Regions from separate parts of the Homo sapiens genome. Here all the other regions are linked to region 5. The links are contacts of gene promoters, found by promoter capture Hi-C in blood cells and fetal thymus (Javierre and others, 2016). All regions are on one chromosome and are shown on one strand. The core of a region is centred on a gene start or on the middle of the fragment in contact, and the rest is flanking DNA. Distances in the headings are between cores, read along the strand shown. Region 1 has its middle 8.3 kb from the start of PWWP2A. Region 2 has its middle 9.0 kb from the start of PTTG1. Region 3 overlaps SLU7 (spliceosome associated SLU7). Region 4 overlaps TTC1 (tetratricopeptide repeat domain 1). Region 5 holds the start of MRPL22 (mitochondrial ribosomal protein L22).

Region 1 (3,441 bases), core at 615-3,114, 5.2 Mb before region 5:
GGCTCACTGCAACCTCTGCCTCCCGGGTTCAAGGGATTCTCCTGCCTCAGCCTCCCACGTAGCTGGGGCTACAGGCATGTGCCACCACACCGGCTAATTTTTTTGTATTTTTGGTAGAGACGGTGTTTCACCATGTTGGCCAGGATGGTCTCGAACTCCTGACCTCGTGATCTGCCTGCCTTGGCCTCCCAAAGTGCTGGGATTATAGGCGTGAACCACCGCACCCAGCAGCATCCCACTTTTAACACTGAAAGTCCTGCATGCCAGGAAACCCCTCAGTCCCAGGCAAACCAAATGGTTCACCTAGAACCACCCCCTCCACAGTGGTGCCTGTGGGGTCAATTTTTGAGGAATTATGTTGACATGGGAATTGTTAGGAATATACAAAGAAAAAGGGGGAGCTGTGTGAAAGGACACCCGAAGACTATGGGCAAAATGTTTCAGGATAGGACCCACATTTTATTACTTGATTCCCCCAAGCTCATCTGGTGGCTGTCTCTGCCTGACACATAGTGCTCATAAATGGCTGGATTAATGTTGGCTCTTATTATGGAGATTGTCCTTAATATTGAAATTTACCTTTGTAATATGATGGCTCTTTCACCTGTGGTGTGAAGTGAGAATCTGTTATCAGAAGCAGGTGGTAAGGGATGTGTGGTATCCATATAGAGCAGGAAGTTTTATTTATTTATTTATTTATTTATTTATTTATTTATTTGAGATGGAGTTTCGCTCTTGTTGCCCAGGCGGGAGTGCAATGGCGTGATCTTGGCTCGCCACAACCTCTGCTTCCTGGGTTCAAGCGGTTCTCCTGCCTCAGCCTCTCAGTAGCTGGGATTACATGCGCCCACCACCACGCCTGGTTAATTTTTGCATTTTTAGTAGAGATGGGGTTTCACCATGTTGGCCAGGCTGGTCTCGAACTCCTGATCTGAGGTCATCTGCCTGCCTCAGCCTCCCAAAGTGCTGGGATTACAAGCATGAGTCACCGTGCCCAGCCCATTTGAAATCTTTTGTTTTCATTTCTTCAAACTTTTAAGTTGTGTGGTATCAGTTTCTGAAATTGCTCTCAGTGATCCCTGCCTCTTGGCATACATGCCCTTGTGGAATCCTCTCTCCTTGTAAATAGCTGGACCTGGTGACTTGCTTCTGAACAGAGTGCAGCAAAAGTGCTGGGATGCCTCTTCTGAGATCACACGACAAAATACTGCGACTTCTTTCTTGCTTACACCAATTTTTCCTCTGGCTCTTCTTGTATGCTTACTCTGACAAAGCAAGTTGCATGTTTTGAGCTGTCCTATGGAGCAGACCCACGTGGCAATTAGTTGAGGGCAGCCTCTGGTCAACAGCCACCAAGGAACTGAATCCTATAAATCAGGGGTGTCCAATCTTTTGGCTTCCCTGGGCCACACTGGAAGAAGAAGAATTGGGCCACACATAAAATACACTACACTAACAAAAGCTGAAGAACAACGACAACAACAACAACAACAACAACAACAACAAAAAACACCACAAAAAAAATCTCATAACGTTTTAGGAAAGTTTACAAATTTGCGTTAGGCTGCGTGTGGCCCATGGGCCGCTGGTTGAACAAGCTTGCTGTAGATGAAAATGTGAGTTACCTTGGAAATGGACTTTCAAAATACATATGCCCAAATATAAATATTTTGGAAGAAATTTATCATAAGGAATTGGATCACTTGATTGTGGAGGCTGAGAAGTTGCGTAAACTGCCATGTGCAAGCTGGGGACCCAAGAAAGCCTGGTGTTATTCCAGTCCAGGTCCAAATGCCTGAGAATCTGGGGAGTTGATGATGTACATCCCAGTACAAGGACAGGAGCAGACTAATGTTCCAGCTCCAACAGGCAGGCAGGCAGGCAGCAAAAGAAGTGAATTCCTTCTTCCTCTGCCTTTTGCTCTATTCAGCCTCTCAACAGATTGGATGATGCCCACCCACACTGCTGAGGGCCATCCACTTTACTGAGTCCACTGATTCAAATGCTAATCTCATCTAGAAACATTCTCTCAACACCCCAGAAATATGGTTTAATCTGGGTACCCCTTGGCTCAGTCAAACTGGTACGTAAAATTAATCATCATATGGATCCTTCCCTAGTTAAGCTTTCAGATGAAACCACACCCCCAGCTGACACCTTGATATGTAGCCTTGTGAGAGACTGAAAGAGAGGATTTTGCTGGGCACAGTGGCTCATGCCTGTAATCCTAGCACTTTGGGAGGCTGAGGCAGGTGGATCACAAGGTCAGGAGATCGAGACCATCCTGGCTAAGATGGTGAAACCCTGTCTCTACTAAAAATACAAAAAAATTAGCCAGGCATTGTGGCGGGCACCTTTAGTCCCAGCTACTTGGAAGGCTGAGGCAGGAGAATGGCATGAGCCCAGGAGGCAGAGCTTGCAGTGAGCCGAGATCGTGCCACTGCACTCCAGCCTGGGTGACAGAGCGAGAATCCGTCTCAGGAAAAAAAAAAAAGAAGAGAGAGGACTTAGTTAAGCCTTGCCTAGGTTTCTCACTCTGAGCATGGTGATGAAATAAATGTATGTTGTTAAGACACTAATACCACTAGCAGATATAGATAACTGATATAAATTTACTTACAGAAAAGTACACGTAAGTGCAGAGCTTGATGAATCATTACAAGCTGAACATACTTGTGTATCCAGTACCCAGATCAAGAATCAGAAATTATCAGAACCCCAGAAAGCACCATTCATATTCTCTTTCCGTCACTAGCTGTGCTGCTCCCCATCATCTCCTATCAAGAGTAACCCCCATCCCGACTTCAAACAGCATAAATTTGTTTTGTTTGGTTTTGTACCATATATAAATAGTATCGGTCAGGTACAGTGGCTCATGTCTGTAATCCCAGCACTTTGGGAGGCCAAGGTGGGCAGATCACTTGAGGTCAGGAATTCAAGACCAGCCTGGCCAACATGGTGGAACCCTGTTTCTACTAAAAATACAAAATACAAAAATTATCCAGGCGCGGTAGCAAGCACCTATAATCCCAGCTACTCGGGAGGCTGAGGCGTGAGAATCACTTGAACCCAGGGGCTGGAGGTTGCAGTGAGCTGAGATCACACCACTGCACTCTAAACTGGGTGACAGAGCAAGACTCTGTCTCAAAAAAAAAAATCATATAATATGCACAAAATAACTTTTTAGCAGATTCTCAGAGAGTTCCCCCTATACATGATACATTCAGAACTACTGACTGACACACACACACACACACAGAGGCAGAGGCAGAGATGACAAATGACATATTTGTCATTAGTTACCCATCACAGCCTTGGTCTGGGAGCAGGTGATCTAATTCCAGAAGATAATTTTTTATTTTTTTTATTTTTTTTTTTTATTTTGAGACAGAGTCTTGCTCTGTTGCCCAGGCTGGAGTGCAATGGCGTGATCTTGGCTCA
Region 2 (3,524 bases), core at 964-3,463, 5.5 Mb before region 5:
ACAGACAGGTGACCAGGAACTGTCTAGGGTAGGAGAAGCTGACCTCCTAGACCTGTGCCTGCCCCCACCACTCTCTCTCTGGAAACCTTGAAGTCAGGCTCCCTGGCCCTGATACCGTGTGATGCTAACAGTGGGTACAGTGCAGTCGCTGGGTCTCTAGAAACCTGGATCCCCAGGGACTGATGACATCTTTACTCATTTCAGCAAGTCCCTGAAGCACCTGCCACATGCCAGGCAGAGAATACACCAGTGCACAGGACACACCTCATCCTGCTCCCAGTAGAGCGGAGGAGAGGACCAGACACAGCCGAGCATGGTAAGTGCAAAGGCTTCTGGTAAGAAAAGCATCTCATTGGAGTACTAGAGATGGACAGGTTTGGCCAGGTGAATCAGGACAGGAAATTACACCCCCAAGGAGCCACCACAAGGCCGTGTGAGCCACACTGAGCAACTCAGACTTCATCCTGGTGGCAGAGGGACATCATTCCAAAGTAAATGAAGTGGGGAATGAGTGCTTGATGAGCATGGGTTTATTTTTGGGGGTGATGAAAGTGTTCTGAAATTAGACAGTGGTGATAGTTGCATATACTCTGAACTAAAAGCCACTGAATTGTACATTTTTAAATGAATTTTCTTATGTGAATGTTACCTCAAAAAAAAAAAAAAGGCCGGGCATGGTGGCTCACGCCTGTAATCCAAGCACTTTGGGAGGCCAAGGCCGGCAGATCACGAGGTCAGGAGATCGAGACCATCCTGGCGAACACGGTGAAACCCTGTCTCTACTAAAAATACAAAAAAAAAAAAAATTAGCTGGGCGTGGTGGTGGGCGCCTGTAGTCCCAGCTACTCGGGAGGCTGAGGCAGGAGAATGGCATGAACCCGGGAGGTGGAGTTTGCAGTGAGCCAAGATTGCACCACTGCACTCCAGCCTGGGCGACAGAGCAAGACTCCGTCTCAAAAAAGAAAAAAAATGAAAGGAATATCTAGAAGGAACTTTCAATTCCAATCAAGATGGAGTAACAGGGACCAGATTTACTCTCCTGCCTGAAACTAAAAAACAAGACAAAATATATGAAATGAGGGCTGCCCAAAGAGTGAACATCAGGCGACAGAGAACAGCGATGCCTGAGGAATGTGAAATAAGTGAGGTGAGGCCGATGACTATCCTTACTGGCTACTTTTGAGTTTCCAGGCCTCAGAGTGGGGAAGAAAGGGAGGCAGGCAGAGCCCAGTGAATTTCCTGAGTTGAAGAGACAGAGCAGAGTCAGGCCAAGGCAGGCCAAGTTTGCAGAGCAGAGCACTGGAGAGGAGAGAGCTGCACAGAGAGAACCCTGGAAATTTGCAGAGGGTCTCCCTGTAGTATTCAGAAGAGCACTGATCCATATAGCTGAAAAGATCAGAGGGAAGAATTCCTGAAGCCCACACAGGGCTGGGAATAGTGTCTGCTCCCACCAGCTAGACAGGAAAACCTCATAATTCAGGGGGCAGCAGAGTCCTAAGCATCTCACACTTCAGTAGTAGGGGGAAATGAGCCCTGGGCTAAATGCTGCTCTGGTGATGCCTAACATTAAAGGCAAGTCTCAAATGAATCAAATTGCTTCTAGGTACCTTACCCATACTCTAGAACAAAGTTTAAGAATATTAATAGAAATGTAAAAATACCCAGCATGAAAAAAGGTAAAATCCATGGCTGGCATGGAAAGTAGAAAAATACAACTTGTAATAAGAAAGAAGAAATGGTAGCAAGATAATGGCATTCCTGACTGTTAGCTCCTACTATAAGAAGGTACAGTATCCTGAGAGGCAGGCTCAGAGGTAGTGTAGAGAAATGCAGAAGGTTTACAGAGTTGTAAAGGTATGAATAAAGTCTGTCTTATTTCAAAAAGTGTCAGAACAAAATAGCAACAACCCCCACAAGATGCAAATTATCTGTATTAATGGAGGAGCATCTGCTTAAAGTTCTCAGTCTCAGCACACATTATGCACATTGCAATCTGATTAACAGCAGATGAAAAGATCAGATCCCTCTATACTCAGTTCTGACCCAGAGGACGGCAATTAACTGGTAAGGGACTGACTAGTCCCCTTGCTCCCAGCCCTTGGTTCCCTCTACCACAAAAGACAATTTTCCAAAGCTTCAGTTTGTGTTGCAGAGTATGAAAGCCATTCAGAACTACACTTTGCTTTTTTTGTTGTTTTTGTGAGACAGCATCTCACTCTACCACCCAGGCTACTCTACCACCCACTTTACCACCCAGTGGCATGACTATAGCCACTCAAGTTGTAAGCTTGAACTCCTGGGCTCAAGCAATCCTCCTGCCTCAACCTCCTGAAACTAGGACTACAGGCATGCGCCACCACACCCGGCTAATTATTTTTAATTTTTGAGAGACAAGGGTCTCACTACATGGCCCAGGTTGAACCCAAGCTCCTGGGATCAAGCAGTCCTCCCACCTCAAACTCTCAAGTGCTGGGATTACTGGTGTGAGCCACTGTGTCCAACCTATACTTTGGTTTTCTTAGCAGCCCTATTTTACCTGAGGATGCTAAACCTATTACTCTCCCCTAAAGCCAAGTGCCCTAGTAGTCTTATGGTATTATCTTCTCCTAGAAGTCTGCCTTTCCACTAATTCCAGAAAGTCACACTGATTCAGTTGTATTTAGAAGGTAAAAAGTTTTAAAGTCAGGATAAGCGGTTGTAGGTGTTCTTAGTATTTCATGCCTAATATCCTTCAGCTTCCTCCAATGACAATGGCAAAGTGTTCACATTCTAACTTGACCATAGAAGCTACTGATATATCAAGGGAAAGACTTCTTATATAACTTAGCATCAAGCAAGGGTCAAATTCAGGTTACTACATGGCCCAAGCGAGTAAAGTGAGTTAAGTAGGCTAGGTCTCAGAAGAGACATGAAAGGTAAAAGGATCACTTCAGTTCTCACTGAGGCCATTTAAGGCAGGGTCTGTGGGATAGAAAGCCTATACTCCACCTAAAAGGCAGCAGCCTGCAATCTACCTCCAGCCCCAGCAAGTGTTGGAAACAGGGTCTACTATGGACACATCTCTTTTCAAGAGAATCTCCAAAGCCAGATTGGTGAAACACTGGAATTTTAAATAGTGGAAATGATTAAGGTTTTTAAAATATCCACCCCCTCCCTCAAAAAGAAAACCTATGAGCAACCATTTGCCATCTCTATTTTGATTCCAACCTCAGAACTGAGATCAAAATACCAGCTCTAATAATTTTCTAGCTCTTCACATCTTTGACAAATCAATGAACTTCTGCGCTTCATTGTCTTACCTGGGAAAGTGTCAAACATTAAACATAATAATGCTTCTCAAATACTCATGTCCAACACAAGGTAAACAACTAAATACAGTTTCCTATAGGTGGAGTGTAGACCTTACTATCAGTAAATTATCTCCAGTGATCTTTAAGGAATCTAATTGAAGATCCCAAGGAGGCTGAATTCTCAGATTTAGAGCCTTTCAATACTGAGTATTAAAGTCATTAGAAACTAAGTAG
Region 3 (3,656 bases), core at 866-3,365, 5.5 Mb before region 5:
CCAGCTACTCGGGAGAATCGCTTGAACCCAGGAGGCAGAGGTTGCAGTGAGCCGAGATCACGTCACTGTGCTCTAGCTTGGATGACAGAGCGAGACTCTATCTCAATCAATCAGTCAATCAGTCAATCAATAACAAAATCCATCTCTGCTCCATGAGACATACATGCTCTTAGAAAAGTGAATTTGCCGGCCGGGCGCGGTGGCTGACGCCTATAATCCGAGCACTTTGGGAGGCCAAGGCGGGTGGATCCCAAGGTCAGGAGATCGAGACCATCCTGGCTAACACGGTGAAACCCCGTCTCTACTAAAAAATACAAAAAATTAGCCAGTCGCGGTGGCGGGCGCCTGTAGTCCCAGCTACTCGGGAGGCTGAGGCAGGAGAATGGGTGAACCCAGGAGGCAGAGCTTGCAGTGAGCCAAGATCATGCCGCTGCACTCCAGCCTGGGCGACAGAGTGAGACTCCGTCTCAAAAAAAAAAAAAAGTGAATTTGCCTCTCTGAGCTGCAGTTTAGTATGTCTGAAATAGAAATGATAACACCTACCCCCAGGAAGCTTATATACATATCACATAGTAAACACTGGGTAATTAGTAGCTATTATTGTTGTGATTATTTTTATTTATTACTAACTTTGGGAAAAGAAAAAGGGCCTGTTTCTTTTGTTCTAATGTATTCTCTGTTGTTTGTTGTAAACGTAATGTAATTTATTTCCCCAGTAAGGATACTTAATGTATGTAAGGGGCTAATGATTTTTGCCCACTTGGATGCTTGGATTATTTTTTTTTTATATACTTTAAGTTTTAGGGTACATGTGCACAACGTGCAGGTTTGTTACGTATGTATACATGTGCCATGTTGGTGTGCTGCACCCATGAACTCGTCATTTAGCATTAGGTATATCTCCTAATGCTATCTCTCCCCGCTCCCAGGATGCTTGGATATTAAGATGAACCACATACAGTAGATTTAGAGACTTAGCTGTCACTATAGAAATGTATGTAAATGTCTTTGGTGAACTAGCAAATAGTGGGAACTCAAAAAAATTATTTTTTACAAAATATTTATATTTCTAATTTTGAAAGTAACACATATTAAGTGGAAAAAAATTAGAACATAATATAAAAAAGAAAATATCCCTGTGTTAATTGTGAACATTTTGAAGTAGGCCTTTCCAGGTCTCTCTTGTCCACATATACCTGTTCATGTGTGCTAGAATACAAAATGTTTCTTACATGAATCCATCTTTATATATTCATTTATTACCTTCTTTTTTAATTTAACAACATAGAGTACAGTGGGAACGTGTTTTCTGTCTATATTTATAGACCTATAGCATCATTTATTTTTGTATGAATTCACATGGCTCAAAAATTAAAACAATTTAAGAAGATGCACAGCGAAGTCTCTCCACCCCTGTTTCTATCCACCCTAACACTAAACTTCCCCTCGCCCCAACTCTTTTGTGTATGTGTGTGGCTCCTTTCAGACTGTCTTGAATAAATACAAATACAAATATATACCCTTATCCTATCTGTCTCTCCCCTCCCCTTTTTTTAATCAAAAAAGTTAGGAAACGATACATACTTTTCTGCCCCTTGGATAGAATCACTTTTAATGGCCGTTCAGTGTTCCATGGAGTGCAATACATTATATAACCAGTGATCTATTAATTTGATTTTTTCCCAGTGTTTTGAAAAAACATTGCACATATACAACACTGCACATCACATTCTTATACATCTTTATATAATTGACATGATACTAGGATAACCTTCTAGAAGTGTATTTCAGTGAGTTTGTATTTCTAAAATTTTTATGACATATCACTTAGCCATCATTCAGAAAAGCCATGCAGATTTATGCTTCCATCTATATAGTATATATACATACACGTGTTTCTGCATCTCCTCACTAATGCTATAATGTATTCTCTTTTTTTTTAAGTATTTTTAATCTTTGAAGCCTTTATGAAGGGACATGATGAAATACCACGTTAGTGTAGGCATTCTGTGGAGTTAGAAAGTATTCTGACCAATTGCTAGCGAAGAAAAGTGTATCCTTGTGACAAGGAGTTTGGCCTCTCCTTAAATTACAATACTGTGTCACTTGTAGATTTTTTTCATTGCCCAAACTTCACTTTGGCTGTGAAGACATGAACCCAGTAATATTTTCTTTTTGGACTTACTAGGAAACTAGTAACGTTTAATGAATACAGTATGTCTGAAGACTAACACATTTAGAAATTAATATTTATTGGGTACTTTGGACATCTTAATCTTTCTGTTACCATTTTGTGGTTATAATCTTAATTAAAATTCTCTTGAAATTTGCTGGCTTTATAGACAGTGTAATAAAATTATTTACAATGGCACTCTTGTATTCAGAATTTTTGCGCTCATTATAACTGAGAAGTGTGAGAGTTTGTTCAGTTAGAATTAAGTTTTATTATCTTAATACTTATTTATAAGTTACATATTATATATTATATAATAAATATTTATTATATATAATATAAATATAATATATAATAAAATATATTTTATTATATAAATATATTATTTATAATAAGATAATAATACTTTATTATCTTAATAATAAAGTTAATTGGATTAAGTGGAATGAGATTATGAATGATTTTTCTTCTTTCATGATGCAGAATTCTCCAAAACACCAGTGGGGAGAAGAGGAACCAAATTCTCAGATGGTAATACATATTTGCTGTCTCTGAGTATATGTTAAATTTTTAAATTTCTGATGGCTAATAATAAATAACACTAATAATAGCTTTTAAAGAACACAAGTAAATAAGGGTTTGGTTAAAGGGAAAGGGGAAAAAAAAGAACTACATGCTGCTTTCTTTTCTTCTTACTTTTCCTTCCTCTCCCTCTTTTAGGAAAAAGATCATAATAGTGAAGATGAGGATGAAGATAAATATGCAGATGATATTGACATGCCTGGACAGAATTTTGACTCCAAGAGACGAATTACTGTCCGGAATCTCAGGATTCGAGAAGATATTGCAAAAGTAAGTCTTGTCAGCTTAACATACATATTTGAAAAATACTTGTCTTCCCAGCATAAATTTTATCGACTCTGGGTAGCATATGGATAATATAGTCAGAGTCATTCTAAGATAAGGTTTCATTCTGTTTTTTCTCTTCACCTGAACCCCAGAAATGTATACACACATTTATTTAATTGATCATGTTCAACTCCTCCAACTAGTCTGCTGAAATCTTTTTGCTGTGAGTAAACATTAATTCTTTAAATATTTTTTTCTTCTAGTATTTGAGGAATTTAGATCCAAATTCTGCCTACTATGATCCAAAAACTAGAGCAATGAGAGAGAATCCTTATGCCAATGCAGGAAAGAATCCAGATGAGTAAGTATCAAGTTAAATGTACAGATTTTAAGATGAGAGAAAGTTAATTGTTTTCTGACCTGACCATAGATGGTGTTCATTTTAATTCAGATTCAGTTTTACGAATTAATTTTCCTTAAATCAATCTCTGAAACATTTTCTTTATTTGTATTTACAGAGTGAGTTATGCTGGAGATAACTTTGTTAGGTACACAGGAGATACCATTTCAATGGCTCAGACACAGTGTAAGTGTTTCCTCTATGTCAAGCCATTTTATATCAGCTCATAAGACG
Region 4 (3,692 bases), core at 181-2,680, 5.1 Mb before region 5:
TTCCGATGTTGGATGCAGTCAATGTACGGGTTAGGTCAATACTTCTTGTTTTGGAAGCTTAGTCATCTGTGTCCATCTGGATCTGTTTCCCATGGTGTGGCCACAGTTCTTCCTATATCAAAATTACCTGGGAGGCTTGCTAACAAAACAGATGCCTGGTTGTTGCCTCACAGGTGTGTGGTGTCAGACACTTCTCAGGCTGTGCATGGTTAATACATTTCCTGTGATGCTTAGACACAATAAAGTCTGGAAACCACTGATCTACACAAAGTGACCTTTCTTAATAAACACAGGAAATACTGAACGTCATTTTAACTTTTCTGCCAGCAAATAATGTAAACACACCTCACTAACTTCCAAATGTTTTAGAGCAGCGGTCCCTACCCTTTTTGGCACCAGGGACTGCTCTTGTGGGGAACTATTTTTCCACGGACTAGGGTCTTGGGGAAGGGGGTGTTCATAATGATTCAAGCACATTACATTTATTGTGTACTTTATAATTATTAAACTGTAATATATAATCAAATAGTTATACAATTCACCATAATGTAGAATCAGTGGGAGCCCTAAGCTTGTTTTCCTGCAACTAGACGGTCCTACCTGGGGGTGATGAGAGACAGTGATAGACTATCAGGCATTAGATTCTTGTAAGGAGCAGGCAACACAGATCCCTTGCATGTGCAATTCACAACAGGGTTCACAAGCCTACGAGAATCTAATGCTACCATGGATATGACATGAGGTGGAGCTCAGACAGTAATGCAAGCGATGGGAAGTGGCTGTAAATACAGATGAAGCTTCGCTCACTAGCCTGCTGCTCACTTCCTGCTGTGTGGCTGGGTTCCTTACAGGCCACAGACTGGTATCAGTACATGGCCGGGGGTTGACGACCCCTGTTTTAGAGCAAGCAACCCTTATTTCCACTGGTTTAAACTTAGCATCAGGCCAGGCAGGGTGGTTCATTCCTGTAATCCCAGCACTTTGGGAGGCCAAGTGAAAGGGCCTCTACAAAAATAAAAATAAACAAACTTGGGATCAGAAATCTAAGCTCCTTCTAGGATTTGATTTAATCGTTTGTAGACAGCATTAAGTTCAACAGTGGTAACTCTAAGAAGTTGGTAAAACTGACCACCTTAGTTCCAAAGGATGCCTATTAGAAATGAAAGAAAAGGAGGCTGGGGCGGGCGGATCACTTGAGGTCAGGAGTTCGAGACCAGCCTGGCCAACATGGTGAAACTCCGTCTCTACTAAAAATACAAAAATTAGCTGGGTGTGGTGGTGGGCACCTGTAATCCCAGCTACTTGGGAGGCTGAGGCAGGAGAATCACTTGAACCTGGGAGGCAGAGGTTGCAGTGAACCAAGATCATGCCACTGTACTCCAGTCTGGGCGACAGGGCAAGACTCTGTCTCAAAATAAACAAACAGAAAACAACAACAACAAAAAGAAAACAAGAAATGAAAGAAAAGGGAGGCAGGAGGCAGGGCACAGTGGCTCATGCCTATAATCCCAGAACTTTGGGAGGCCGAGGTGGGTGGATCATGATGTGAGTTCGAGACCAGCCTGGCCAATATGGTGAAACCCAGTCTCTAGTAAAAATACAAAAATTAGCTGGGTGTGGTGGCACACGCCTGTAGCCCCAGCTACTCGGGAGGCAGAGAGAGAATCGCTTGAATCCGGGAGGCGGAGGTTGCAGTGAGCAGAGATCGCACCGCTGCACTCCAGCTTGGGCAACAGAGAGGGAATATCCATCTCAAAAAAAAAAAAAAAAAAAAAAAGAATGAAAGAAAAGGGAAACAACAAAATCAGAAAGGTTGCTCATGACGTTAACAGGACTATGCAGGCCACTATGGAAGAAGTTACTGAGAACTTTTTGGAAGCAATCGAGAGTATTCCCTGCAAACACATCCACAGCCACAACATTAATTAGATTATGAAAATGGTGCAATAGGGTGGCAGAAACATGGAAATCCAAAAGATTAAGTAATGTGGAATTTAGGAAAAATGACAGAGGGAAGAGACTGAAATATAACATCTGTTCTAAACTGAAACTTCTAAGCTTTGATAATGGTTCCTAAAGAGAAAATGACCTTAAAGAATAATCCTTAAAACTTTCAGAGCCTAATGTTTTAAAATCCCAGATACCAGGCATTCTGAATCCATGTTCACCAAGCAACAGACTTTTGGATCCCTTATGTGTACATGTAAATGAATACCATTTGCAAACCACTAGTGAAAGGGAGCAAACCCATTGAAATGACTAAATCTGCATTTTGGCTTACAAATAAAAAATGTTTGTTTGCAGGAAAGAATTAAATCACCAGAACCTGGATAAGTTCAAAGTTCCTTCATCTTCTTCATATTAATAAAGGCCACACCATCCATCCAGTAGCTGAAGACAAGGAATCATTCTAACGTCTCACTCCATCCCGCCAATCGAATCCACTGCAATGTGTGGTCTGCTTTACCTCTGAAATATATCCCAAAATCATACACTTCTCTTCAGATCCACAGTTCAAGCTACTATCATCTTCACTGGGCTACTGCATTAGAGCCTAATTGGGCTCAAATGTTCTATTCATGTCCCTCCTCCATCCTCATACCCCTCCATTCTCTGTATAAGAACTGAATTCTCTTATTAAAATGTAAATAACTTCCGTCTCTCCCTGGCTTAAAATTATCCATCTGTTTCCTTCTGCACTTGGAAAAAACTTCAAGTTCTTTACTACGGCTTAGGAACTATTCCATAATCAGACCCTTGCCTACTATCAGCCCACTCTCTTCCTTAATCATCATGCTTCAGCCATCGGCTCTTCCATTCCTTGAACATGCCAAAACACCAAACTTGTTGTTACTTTAGGGCTTTATTCAACTGCTCTCTTTGTCTGCAATGCTTCCCTCTCAGACGGTCACACATTTGGCTGCTCCCAGTGCCACCCTCCCCTAAGTCTCTGTTGAGAGGCCACCTCTCCAGAGAGGCTTTCCTGACCAGCCAATCTAAAGCAGTCCTCTCCACCTGTCTTAGTCAGGTTGCTATAACAAAATAACAGACTCAGTAATTTATAAATAATAGAAATTTATTTTGCACAGCTCTAGGGGCTGGAAATTCCAAGATCAAGGCACCAGCAGATTTCGCGTCTGGTAAGGGGCTTGTTCTTTGCTTCAATATGGTGCCTTCTTTCTGCATCCTCACTTTGTGGAAGGGGAGTAGAAGGGCCCAACAGGTTCCCTCAAGTCTTTTATTGGTATACTTTATAAGGATACTAATTCTTCTAATCACCTTCTAAAGGCTCCACCTCTTAATACTACACATTGAGGATTAAGTTCAACATGAATTTTGGAGGAAAACATTCAAACCATAGCACCATCCTTCCAACCCAACCCATCCTTCATGTTAACATTTTGTCCTAATTCTCCAATGAGAGAACAGAAACCCTGTCTTGTTCACCACTGTATCCCTCAGGGCCTCAAACAATGTCTAGTGGGTGGAAGAAATGTAAATATTACTTGAATAAATGTGAGAAAAAAATTTCTGTAACTTATAAGGCCAATTATTGGCTCTCATGGGGGAGAAAAAGATGCTATTCATTCAACAGCTATTTAATGAAGGAAGATTGTGCAAAACCTGTGACAGTGGTCCTCAAGCCTCAGCATGTGCATATGAATTACCTAGGAAATTTACACATGAGACCT
Region 5 (3,821 bases), core at 254-2,753:
AAGCCAAGAAGCAAGTAAGTGCAAAGTATATTCAGAAAAAGTAAGTAAATCAGCATGGTTGGGGGAAGAGTGATAGAAGATTATCTAAGAAGAGTACAGACAAATCCTAAGAGCTACTACTTCCTATTTTCTTCTTTAGCCCACCTCTTTATCCCCCTCGGACCCAAAAACTTAGAAAAGGGTTAAATATAATTGGGAACTCAGTAATAATTTATAATAATAAAAACATTAATGGCAACTAGAATTCAGAGTGGGATTATCACATGCCATAAACATACTAAATACTTCATATGCATTATCTTGTTTGAATTTCCTTTTTAAAATCTACTAGAGCTACATAGATGGCATGTGCCTGTAATCCCAGTACTTCAGGAGGCTGAGGCAAGAGAATTGTTTCAGCCCTTAAGTTTGAGACCAGCATGGGCAACATAGCAACACTTCATCTAAAAAAATAAATAAATAAAAATTAAAAAATTTTTTAAATCCTAAGAGATAGGTACTAACATAACGCTCATATCATAAAAGTGATAACTGAAGCTTATTAAGAATAAGTAACTTTTCCAAGATCACAGTTAAAAAATGGATTCATATACAACTCATCTGTCTGCAAAGCCTATGAACTAAACCAAAATCAATGCTAACAAATGGACAGACCAGAAAATTTACAATCAGATTATCAATTTTCAAATACCGATTTTTTATTTTGGGGAGAAATACAGCGACTACTTACCCTAACCTTTAATGAATGCTTTTGTCCTAAGGCTACAGAATGCTCTGGTATAAAGCTTCAAAATTTCCTACAACTGAGTGGCCTTAGGCAAGTTATTTTACGTTTGGGGACTTCAATTTCCTTGTCTGAAAAACGGGTATAGCAGAACCTACTCGTAGAATGTTATGAGAGTGAGTTAAAGCATATAAACCGCTAAACACAATGTCAGGTACGACGTAAAGCAGAGTTGTCCACAACACGGTCCCTGCCCATGTAAGCAAGTAATCAGAGAGGTAACTTGAAAAGTTGGACGCTTCCATATGGAGATGGAATAGTCTAACCTTGTCCAGAAAGATCACAGTAGACGTTCGGAAATCGCATTTACAATCGCCCTTGGGTTATGGGTAATCCTGATCCCTGTACAGTTTATGCAATAAGGTGGAGAAAAAATAGAGTGACAAAGCAGAGACTCGGGCTGTCTCATTCGCCTCAGTAACCCCAGAGCCTAAAACACAGTTAGGCACGGAGGCGCTCAGTTACCAACTGGCAGAATACTAAAGATGCCTTGGGCCCTTCCGAAACTCCGAAGCGAGAGACTCACCCCAAGGCCAGCTTCCCCCGGCTCCTCAGGTTATGTATCCATAACGCACCTGCAACATCAACACAAGCCGTCAACTCAGATTCCATCTCGACTCCCTTCTGTCGCTTAACCACTAAGAAATCCTTACCCAACTGTCCCAGTACTGCCGCCGCCATCTTTCGCCCTCCCGCTACGGAAGCCGCCGAGTTCAAGCGCCTTCTGGACAGCACGCATGCGCAATACTCTGGATTTCCTGTGGGGCTCTCCCACAAGCAGTACTTACACCCCAGGTGCCGTCACGAAGATCGCAAGCACTGGGCCGGCGCTCGAGGTGTGGTCAGGCGAACCTGGCTTGGGAATGAATTAATTAATAAAGGCCGAAAGCACGTGGGCTTCCGAAAATTCACCTGGATTCAGAAAAACTAAAGTCCCAACTCACAAACTAGAAAGGAGTAGGGGAACAGAATCCGTGAACAAGCCACCTAATCCGGTGGTCCTCAGTTTTCTTATCAGAAATGACTAACCTTAGGGCACAAGCTTGTTGTAAAGATCAGTTGAAATAGTGTGAAAGCTATTTTATTTCATTTTATTGAAACAGGGTCTCTCTCTCGCTTAGGCTGGAGTGTGGTAGCAATGACCTAGTCTCACTGCAGCCTCGACCCCGGGCTCAAGCCACCCTCTTACCTCAGCCTCCCAAGTAGCTGTGACTACAGGCGCACATCACCACGCCCGGCTAATTTTTGTATTTTTTATAGATAAGGAGTTTCCCCAAATTGCCCAGGCTGATCTCGAATTCCTGGGCTCAAGCAATCTGCCCTCCTCGGCCTCCCAAAGTGCTAGGATTAGAGGTATGAGCCACGAAACCTAGCCTAAAATCTCTTTTAAAGAGCAAATAGTTCAAATATGATGTATGCTGTCCTAATCCCTACTAATCTGGTTGACCTTCAAGAATGAGTTTATATTCATCTGGCATTTACTGCCTTATGTCAGGCAGGTATTTCACTAAATCTCATTTATTCCTCACAGCAATCCAACAAGGCATGGATTATCATTTTCCTTCTTCAAATGAGGAAACATATTTAGGATATGTTAAAGTCTCTCAACTAACAACTGGCAAACCAGTGATCAATCTACGACTAGGTGCCTCCAAATTTGTGCCCCTAGACGCCTTCAAATATATGTATTTGACCCCTCTGTATTAGAATAACAGGTAGTTCAGATTGCGGTTTGCTACCTATGCAGGAATGTCAGATACCCAATGCAAACAAGCAACACACGAGTAGTGCAGAATCTGAGCATTTTAGCATTTTTGAGTTGAAAGGAAACTTTCTTCCACACCATTTACCACATACAGCTTCCTTCACACAGCTGGCCCTCAATCAAGCAAATCAAGAGTCACTCCATTTGCTTCTCCTTCATCTTTGAGTACCCAGAACCCAGAGCCAGAATTTCCACCCAGTTGCAGAAACTGTTCTTTCCCTTTTTAATTCCAGATTCGTACTTTCATATTTTTGTTTGTTTTGTTTTTTTGAGACAGGGTCTCACTCTATTGCCCAGGCTTGAGTGCAGTGGCTCGATCACAGCTCACACCAGCCTGTCTCCCGGACTCCATATTGTAATGCCCAACCTTGTTTTTACTAACCCTGTTTTTAGACTCTCCCTTTTTCCTCTGATCACCTAGCCTTGTTTCCACTTGAATTGACTCTTGCTTAGCTAAGAGAGCCAGACAGACTCCATCTTGGCTCTTTCACTGGCAGCCCCTTCCTCAAGAACTTAACTTGTGCAAGCTGACTCCCAGCACATCCAAGATGCAATTAACTGATAAGATACTGTGGCGAGCAATATCCGCAATTCCCAGGAATTCGTCTGATTGATAGCACCCAAAGCCCCCAGTCTATCACCTTGTAATAAATAGTCTTAAAGCCCCTGCACCTGGAACTGTTTACTTTCCTGTAACCATTTATCCTTTTAACTTTTTGCCTACTTTATTTCTGTAAAATTGTTTTAACTAGACTCCCCTCCCCTTTCTAAACCAAAGTATAAAAGAAAATCTAGCCTCTTCTTCCGGCTGAGAGAACTTTGAGCGTTAGCCATCTCTTGGCCACCGGCTAAACAAATGGACTCTTAATTCGTCTCAAAGTGTGGCGTTTTCTCTAACTCACTCAGGTACAACAATATTTTTGTTAAGTGGCCTCTTGTGCATATCTTTTTTTGTTTTGTTTTGTTTTTATTTGAGATGGAGTCTCGCAATGTCGCCCAGGCTGGAGTGCAGTGGCGCAATCTCTGCTCACTGCAACTTCCGCCTCCCAGGTTCAAGCGATTCTCCTGCCTCAGCCTCCCTAGTATTTGTTGTCTAGGGATTGTTGCATTTTACTTTTTTTTTTTTTTTGAGATGGAGTCTCGCTGTGTGGCCAGGCTAGAGTGCAGTGGCGTGATCTCCGCTCACAGCAACTTCCGCCTCCCGGGTTCAAGCGATTCTCCTGCCTCAGCCTCCCGAGCAGCTGGGATTACAGGCGCCTGCCACCACACCCG

Evidence for each region. The method cuts DNA at HindIII sites, captures the fragments that hold promoters and counts their contacts. A CHiCAGO score of 5 or more calls a contact.
Region 1: a fragment that was not itself captured here is called in contact with the fragment with the promoter of MRPL22 in region 5 in 1 of 17 cell types (non-activated CD4 T cells); the score reaches 6.5 in non-activated CD4 T cells.
Region 2: a contact is called between a fragment that was not itself captured here and the fragment with the promoter of MRPL22 in region 5, in 4 of 17 cell types (total B cells, fetal thymus, activated CD4 T cells and 1 more). The highest score is 10.0, in total B cells.
Region 3: a fragment that was not itself captured here is called in contact with the fragment with the promoter of MRPL22 in region 5 in 1 of 17 cell types (naive CD8 T cells); the score reaches 6.4 in naive CD8 T cells.
Region 4: a fragment that was not itself captured here is called in contact with the fragment with the promoter of MRPL22 in region 5 in 1 of 17 cell types (total CD4 T cells); the score reaches 6.1 in total CD4 T cells.

What each region holds. Positions count from the first base shown.
Region 1 is chr5:160,126,073-160,129,513 of GRCh38, reverse strand. No RefSeq gene overlaps it. Among named protein-coding and RNA genes, the nearest start is that of PWWP2A, 8.3 kb to the right of the region's middle. The HindIII fragment of the contact is 527 bases long and covers 1,601-2,127 here.
Region 2 is chr5:160,429,050-160,432,573 of GRCh38, reverse strand. No RefSeq gene overlaps it. Among named protein-coding and RNA genes, the nearest start is that of PTTG1, 9.0 kb to the right of the region's middle. RefSeq lists an enhancer at 55-144. The HindIII fragment of the contact is 153 bases long and covers 2,137-2,289 here.
Region 3 is chr5:160,407,698-160,411,353 of GRCh38, reverse strand. It overlaps SLU7 (spliceosome associated SLU7), which reads left to right. Exons shown (of 16, transcript NM_006425.5): 7 at 2,657-2,704; 8 at 2,894-3,025; 9 at 3,286-3,383; 10 at 3,541-3,608. Among named protein-coding and RNA genes, the nearest start is that of FAM200C, 9.5 kb to the right of the region's middle. The HindIII fragment of the contact is 3,120 bases long and covers 556-3,656 here.
Region 4 is chr5:160,017,666-160,021,357 of GRCh38, reverse strand. All of the region lies in intron 2 of TTC1 (tetratricopeptide repeat domain 1), which reads right to left. LOC124901124 (a long non-coding RNA gene) reads right to left here. Exons shown (of 2, transcript XR_007059025.1): 1 at 2,327-3,692. Among named protein-coding and RNA genes, the nearest start is that of TTC1, 10 kb to the right of the region's middle. The HindIII fragment of the contact is 1,261 bases long and covers 800-2,060 here.
Region 5 is chr5:154,938,755-154,942,575 of GRCh38, reverse strand. MRPL22 (mitochondrial ribosomal protein L22) reads right to left here and starts at 1,503. Exons shown (of 7, transcript NM_014180.4): 1 at 1,438-1,503; 2 at 1,311-1,359. The coding sequence starts at 1,465. RefSeq lists an enhancer at 1,404-1,563. The HindIII fragment of the contact is 1,041 bases long and covers 788-1,828 here.